Regions from separate parts of the Homo sapiens genome. Here region 1 is linked to region 2. Evidence: promoter capture Hi-C in 16 types of primary human blood cells and fetal thymus (Javierre and others, 2016). All regions are on one chromosome and are shown on one strand. Each heading gives the region's core, a stretch centred on a gene start or on the middle of the fragment in contact. The rest is flanking DNA. Distances are from core to core; before and after follow the strand shown. Region 1 overlaps IQCJ-SCHIP1 (IQCJ-SCHIP1 readthrough). Region 2 holds the start of IL12A (interleukin 12A).

Evidence for each region. Contacts are between HindIII fragments. The CHiCAGO score rates a contact against its expected background, and 5 or more counts as called.
Region 1: a contact is called between a fragment that was not itself captured here and the fragment with the promoter of IL12A in region 2, in 5 of 17 cell types (monocytes, M1 macrophages, M0 macrophages and 2 more). The highest score is 8.6, in monocytes.

What each region holds. Positions count from the first base shown.
Region 1 is chr3:159,876,326-159,879,838 of GRCh38, forward strand. The region is part of intron 5 of IQCJ-SCHIP1 (IQCJ-SCHIP1 readthrough); the gene reads left to right. All of the region lies in intron 3 of SCHIP1 (schwannomin interacting protein 1), which reads left to right. Among named protein-coding and RNA genes, the nearest start is that of IQCJ-SCHIP1-AS1, 110 kb to the left of the region's middle. The HindIII fragment of the contact is 1,581 bases long and covers 1,175-2,755 here.
Region 2 is chr3:159,986,388-159,990,088 of GRCh38, forward strand. IL12A (interleukin 12A) reads left to right here and starts at 2,448. Exons shown (of 7, transcript NM_001397992.1): 1 at 2,448-2,787. The coding sequence starts at 2,772. IL12A-AS1 (IL12A antisense RNA 1) reads right to left here. Exons shown (of 10, transcript NR_108088.1): 9 at 2,710-2,906. RefSeq lists enhancers at 107-1,306, 2,158-2,658, 2,659-3,159, 2,659-2,708 and silencers at 2,219-2,418, 2,489-2,538. The HindIII fragment of the contact is 5,775 bases long and covers 61-3,701 here.

The DNA of each region.
Region 1 (3,513 bases), core at 715-3,214, 110 kb before region 2:
GGGGTATTGGGAACCAGAGGGTCTGGCTTGGAATCTTGACTCTGCCGCTTACTAGCACTTACTAATGGCTTCACTTGTGGCTCAGTTTCCTCATCTGTAAAATAGGGTAATAATTGTGCCTACTTCATGGGGTTACTGTGAGGAAGACCAGCAAAGCACTCAGAAGAGTGCCTGGACGAGAGTCAGTGCTGCATTAGTAGGTGCTGCTACAGTATTTCGTTATCCTTTTTATTTACTCTTAGACACCATTGATTGTAAGACAAATAGTTATTTTATGTACCACTAAAAAAGAAAAACTACTGCCATTTAAACGGTGACACATGCCTTCTTAACACTTAGAGTTTTTATTTTAGTTATTGAAAGAGTAATTTTAGACTTGTTTGGACATACGCTTTTATCATATGTTTCTTGTGCACAAAAAGAGGAAGAAAAGGTGAAACATGTTGGCAAATGTAGTCCTAAACTTTCCAGCTCTCCACTTAACCACTTTACCTGAGAGCTGCCATGTCTCAGCTTTTGGGCCATCGGGAGATGGAGTGCATCACCTTCCAAGCCATCGTCCCCCCATCTGCAAGGTTTGATGCTGGAGCTTTGTTGTTCTTGTCAGAAGGCATGAGTGGACAACCAGTGCCCACCTCCTCCTTGGGGATTATTACCTGGTTTGTGGGCTGATAGAGTTAAGTACTGCAATCATGCCACCACCTACCTGAGGTACAGCAGCTGAGATACATCCCTATTTTAGGCTGGGAGCAGTGGCTCACGCCTGTAATCCCAGCACTTTAGGAGGCCAAGGCAGGTGGATCACCTGAGGTCAGGAGTTCAAGATCAGCACAGCCAACATGATGAAACCCCCATCTCTACTAAAAATACAAAAATTAGCCAGGAGTGGTGGCGGGCGCCTATAATCCCAGCTACTCAGGAGGCTGAGGCAGGAGAATCGCTTTAACCCTGGAGGCAGAGGTTGCAGTGAGCCGAGATCACCCCATTGCACTCCAGCCTGGGTGACAAGAGCGAAACTCTGTTTCAAAGAATAAAAAATAAAGACTGCAAAATGTAAATAACCATGCTTCATAGAATCAATGCAATCTTATTGATCCACTGCATTCTTTTTCACGACTGCGTAGAATTCAAACAGTCACAAACTAAATCATGAAAGCCAGTGTTTTTGAGATGAAGCTTACCATGGAACCAAGCCTAAATGGTGGCCCCAAAATGTTTCTAAACATGAACATAAAAAGTGGTAAAGCAGTGCTTTAATGGTCAAAAGAATAAAAGAATTTGCAATTAAGATTTTCGCCTACTTCAGGAATATGCCTCAGAAACACACACAGGCACTGACTCTCCGCTGTCATGTTTTTTACCCAGTCCGCATGAACATTTTCAAAGGTCTGGAAGGGGAAAAGTATTTCTTCTCTAACCTTCATTGCCTCAACAGCTGAAACTCATCAGCAGGTGGGGTAGATAGGTGTTTAAACTCTGTCTGAGCTGAGCAGAATAAATAGGCAGCCTGGCTTTAAAAATACAAACAGTTAAATTTATATCAATTACGTTAGAGTCTGTAATTTACTGCAGATCCAAGGAGGAGAATGAAATCAAGACTGGATTGAGGAGGGATGTCAACAGTTGAATCAGAGTCCATCCACAGAAATGTTCTCTTATAAGAAAATATGTTTCTTGCTGCCCACGGATCTCCCACCACCTCCAGCACCCTGCCAAAAACAAAAGTCCCTGCATAGACATGGCTGAGTCAGACACACAGCCATCCTCTTCCAGCCATCAAACACTGATCTGCTCACCTTTTCTCCAACACACAAATGCTAATCATCAACTCGGTCATGTTCTTTCCTTTTCTTTTTTAAATTCTTGCCAAGGCCGGGCGCAGTGACTCATGCCTGTAATCCCAGCACTTTGGGAGGCCAAGGCAGGTGGATCACATGAGGTCAGTAGTTCGGGACCAGCCTGGCCAACATGGTGAAACCCTGTCTCTACTAAAAATGCAAAAGATAGCTGGCTGGGTATGGTGGCGGGTGCTTGTAGTCCAAGCTACTCGGGAGGCTGAGGCAGGAGTATCGCTTGAACCCAGGAGGCGGAGGTTGCAGTGAGCCAAGATTGCACCCCTGCACTCCAGCCTGGGCAACAGAGTGAGACTCTGTCTCAAAAAAATAAAAATAGGCCGGGCGCGGTGGCTCACGCCTGTAATCCCAGCACTTTGGGAGGCCGAGGCGGGCGAATCACGAGGTCAGGAGATCGAGACCATCCCGGCTAAAACGGTGAAACCCCGTCTCTACTAAAAATACAAAAAATTAGCCGGGCGTAGTGGCGGGCGCCTGTAGTCCCAGCTACTTGGGAGGCTGAGGCAGGAGAATGGCATGAACCCGGGAGGCGGAGCTTGCAGTGAGCCGAGATCCCGCCACTGCACTCCAGCCTGGGCGACAGAGCGAGACTCCGTCTCAAAAAAAAAATAAAATAAAATAAAAAAATAAAAAAATAAAAAATAAAAAATAAATAAAAATAAATAAATTCCTGCCAAATGCCCATATGTAGCACCTCAGAGGTGCTCAAAAGAGGAAAATCCAAAGCCAACTGAAACTCTTTCACCAAAAAAAAAAAAGATGTATTTCCTGACTTTTTTTCTATGCATATATCTCCATATTTTTGTTTATAAAATTGGAATTATAGCATAGGTACTGTTTTTAGCCTTCTTTCTTTTACTTAACAGTCGGAAACTTTCATCCAATCTAATAATATTGGACTAAGCTTACTCATAAGATTCATCTAATGTAATAATATTGGACTAATCTTATTCATAAGATTAGTATTTCTACTAGCTGCAGAATAGCCCATCATATATTTCACCATAATATACTTTATCAATCTTTTATTATTAGGCATTTAAGTTGTTGCCAGCTTTTTGTTTTGGTTTTGTTTTTGTTTTGCTTTCTTTCTTTTTTTTTTCTTTCTTCTCTTTTTTTCTACCATTAATGAATTTGTTTCCTCCTTTTTAAAGTGCTCTGACATCTCAAGACGGACTTTCCTAAAGTATCAGTGTTGTGATATTGTGTAATTTAACCTCTCTGAGCCGTTTTCTCATATGTGAAACAGGGTTCACAGTGCCTGCTTCATGTGTATCTGAGGGTTAGACATAAAATAGTAAAATGCCTGGCACTTAGTAGATGCTCAAAAACAGTAACTTTTAATTTCAGAATACAGATTACTTGGAAATTACTTGGCCTTATTTAACATGGAAGTAGATAACATTTGCTGCCTACGAGAGATGGCTGTTTTATTCCTCGTATCAGAAGAGGCCTCGTTCTGGTCTTTCATTCATGCTAGAGAACATTTCAGTTGAAAATGCATTTTCCCAACATTAAGATCCTATAATTCCAAATTTAATTACATGAAAGTGGTCATTAGTGAAGGAAATGGACACTGATGTAGAATTAGAACCAACAGCCGTCTGAGGAATGCAAGTATTTATAGCTCTCTGGAGATTCGGGTTAGGATACAGGGGCG
Region 2 (3,701 bases), core at 1,198-3,697:
ATTTATTTGTAGCTTGTATTGGAATTACATTGAGCATGTGAATTAACGAAAAGAGGCTTAAGCTTTCTATATAGAGAAACCTTCCACCCAAGGGTATAGAATTATTTAATTAAATCACACTATATTCTTGACTGAACTTTAAAATTTTTCTCCAAACACTATTCTGTAGTTATCCAAGCTCATGTAATAATCATAATAACTCTATACTGTAGGTACTTTTATTATCATCATTTAACAGATGAGGAAACTGAGCCCAGAGAGATAAATAACTCACCTAAGAACACACAGCAAGTAAGTAGCAGAACCTGGATTAACATAGTTTAGTCCATACTCTTAGCCATTATACTGCCTCTGTATCTACAGTCAGTTACTTTATAGTTTGGCTGCTTCTATGCATGTCATCTTGTTTTTATTACATTTTCTGATGGATTGTTGCAGATACAAAGAAAATCGGCTGATTTTTTTTAAGTTGATATGTGTATTGCATGATGTTGTTAAATTCTCTTCTTAGTTCTAATAGTCTATTAATTTTTTTTCTTTTTGTATATCAACTGTAAAAAGTGACAGTTTTACCTTTTCTTTTCCAATGTTTAAAGCTCTCATTTCTTTTTCTTTCCTTATAGCATTGGCCGAGACCTCCACGACAATGCTACACACTGTGAAGTAGTGATTGTGAGCTAAGACTGTCACTTATAGAAAAATCATGTATTCCTAGAAGAAGGTTTTCATTTCATCTTAGCTAGAGGACATGGAGCACTTCAGGAAACTATTTCACAAAAATGTAAATTAGAAACTGTGTCTGGTAGCCAATAATCCATTTTTAACAGTGGCCCTGTGCTCATCTAAGCAACAGAAATTACTTTTGTATAGGAGATGGCCCTTCCAGGGGAGAAACAGCTCAGTTGTGATACACTTGTCTTCATCCTGACTTTAAGTACATTTAACTCCACACTAAACCCTTGTGGCCACAACACAGCTCTGCACCTGTCATTTGCTCTAGACAAACTGCTAAACGCAATTGTTTCTGACAATGGATTACTCTGTATCCCGTGGGGGAATTCTCAGACAGCAGCATTAGAAGGGGCCTTAGAGATCAACCATTTCTCTTATTTTACACACACCTAAAACTCCCTACAGCCGTGCTTCATCAGCTTCGAGCAGATGAGCCACCCAGAAGGCAGCTCCAGTTATTAGGTCCTAGGGCCTGGGTGTAGTCAGGCCCTTTGGAAGCTCCAAGTCAGAGATCAAACACATCCTCCCCACTACCCACGCCTAGGGTGACTAATGCCTGTGGGAAAAACAACTGAACTAAAAAGTCCCACAGGAACCTCAAACCCAGCACATCCAAAATGGAACTTCTCACCATCTCCTCCAAACTCAGTCCTCTTATACAGTAATCCCTGTAAAGCTAGAACAATCTCCATTCCCCATTCTCAGGGCCTTCCTCTCCCGCTCACCTGAGGAGCTACCAAGCCTTGGCCCACAAGCCCTCTGAGAGTCCCTCCTGCCCACCCTGTGTTCTCCATACTGAATAAGGACTTGGCCACACCTTGTCAACTCTTCCCTCTGCTCTACTCCTGACCCCTGGATCCATCCTTCATGCTGTGGCTGAAGGGATCCCCCCATCATGCAAATTCTGCCACATCTCCCGCCTAAAACCCAGGAAGACTCCCCACTACTCTCAGCACAGAAAGTACACTCCTTAGTATGGCATCCCCTGCCCTCATGGCATGGCCCCATCCAGCCCTCCAGCCTCACACCCTGCAAGGACACCTAGACCCCCACCTCCCTCAACCCTTCATGACTGCGCTTCTGATCCCTGTTTCCCCTGGCTAGACCCTGCGTGCCCTCCCGCTGGAAGCGGTCTAATGCCTGCTTGTTTTTAACACTCAGGTTGGGGCCCCTGCCTGCTCCCGGGAGCCTTTGCTGACTCCTGGACCCCGTTGCTCCGGCTGAGCGTGGGCTCTTTCTCTAGGTCTTTCCTCCCAGGACTCTGTGTATTCATCCTATCGTTAAACTGGATTCTCTACAAGAGTAATAATTGCAGAGTCAGCCAGCTCTCATCCCTTTTCAGGTTTCAGAAAAGACCTGTGAACAAAACGCCTTGAGTCTGATTTAGTGTGGCAATGCCCCAAGGGTCCTGTTCTCCCTGGGTGTCCTGCACCTGGTGCAACGTCGGCCTGGCATCTAGTGAGCCATCTAAAGGAACGATGATGAGTGAATGATTTGCCTACCCCTTCCAGTACTAGGCTGGAGGTCGTGGTTAGGGCCCATCCCTACGCAGGACATGCAAAGTGGGAGGCACTCCTCTCTCTACGTCGGCAGGGGGCGCTGCACAGCTGCGGGGCGGGGTAGCTTAGACACGGGGCGTCCGGCTAAGGCCGGGGACCCAGGGTGGTGGGCGGGGTGTCCCGCCCGCCTGTGGACCCCGCGCAGTAACTGCGAACATTTCGCTTTCATTTTGGGCCGAGCTGGAGGCGGCGGGGCCGTCCCGGAACGGCTGCGGCCGGGCACCCCGGGAGTTAATCCGAAAGCGCCGCAAGCCCCGCGGGCCGGCCGCACCGCACGTGTCACCGAGAAGCTGATGTAGAGAGAGACACAGAAGGAGACAGAAAGCAAGAGACCAGAGTCCCGGGAAAGTCCTGCCGCGCCTCGGGACAATTATAAAAATGTGGCCCCCTGGGTCAGCCTCCCAGCCACCGCCCTCACCTGCCGCGGCCACAGGTCTGCATCCAGCGGCTCGCCCTGTGTCCCTGCAGTGCCGGCTCAGCATGTGTCCAGCGCGCAGTGAGTACTCAGCCCGCCAGGTCTTTGGCTCGCTCGGGTGCGGAGGGGCGGCTGCTTGGGAAGAGTGGGTAGAAACTCAAGTCTGCCTAAGGAGAGACTGGAACAGCAGCAGCCGTCTCCTGCAAAGAGGAATAAGAATAGGGGTCTCACCGTGTGCTAAATAGGGCATGTCTCTTTTCATCTCGAAACAGCCTGATGAGCTATCATTATGCCCACTTCGTAGAGGAGAAACTGAGGCCCAGCGTGGGAGATTTCCTGCTTTCCTGCCTAGGGTCCCTCAGCTACAAACAGAAGGCAGATCCTAGCCAGTTCTAAAGTCAGGCTTGGCCGGGTGCAATGGCTCACGCCTGTAATCCCAGCACTTTGGGAGGCCAAGGCGGACAGATCTCCTGAGGTCAGGAGTTCAAGACCAGCCTGACCAACATGGTGAAACCCCGTCTCTACTAACAAATACACAAATTAGCCGAGTGTGGTGGTGGGTGCCTGTAATCCCATCTACTCGGGAGTCTAAGGCAGGGAAAATTGCTTGAACTCGGAGGTGGAGGTTGCAGTGAGCCAAAATCGTGCCACTGCACTCCAGTCTGGGCCACAGAGTGAGACTCCGTCTTAAAAAAACAAAAAAAGTCAGGCTTTCTCACTCCACTGTTTTTAAAACACTGGGTCCCAAGTCTGACTCAGCCACTTCACCACCTGGTCTGGGTTTCCCTGATCAAAAACATGTAGGCTTTCTCTGGGTGAGTGTTGGGTTCAACACCCTTGTCCAAGCTCATCTCTAGACCCTCACAGGGAGCTGGCTTCTAGCCCTAGAATAGAGTGGCGCTTTGTAATAACTCGAGTCATCTCTCAGGTGTTGAAGGAAAAGTGTTGGAAATGGGTTGAGGGAGGTGGGTGCCAAGCATGAATGGATGGGTGAA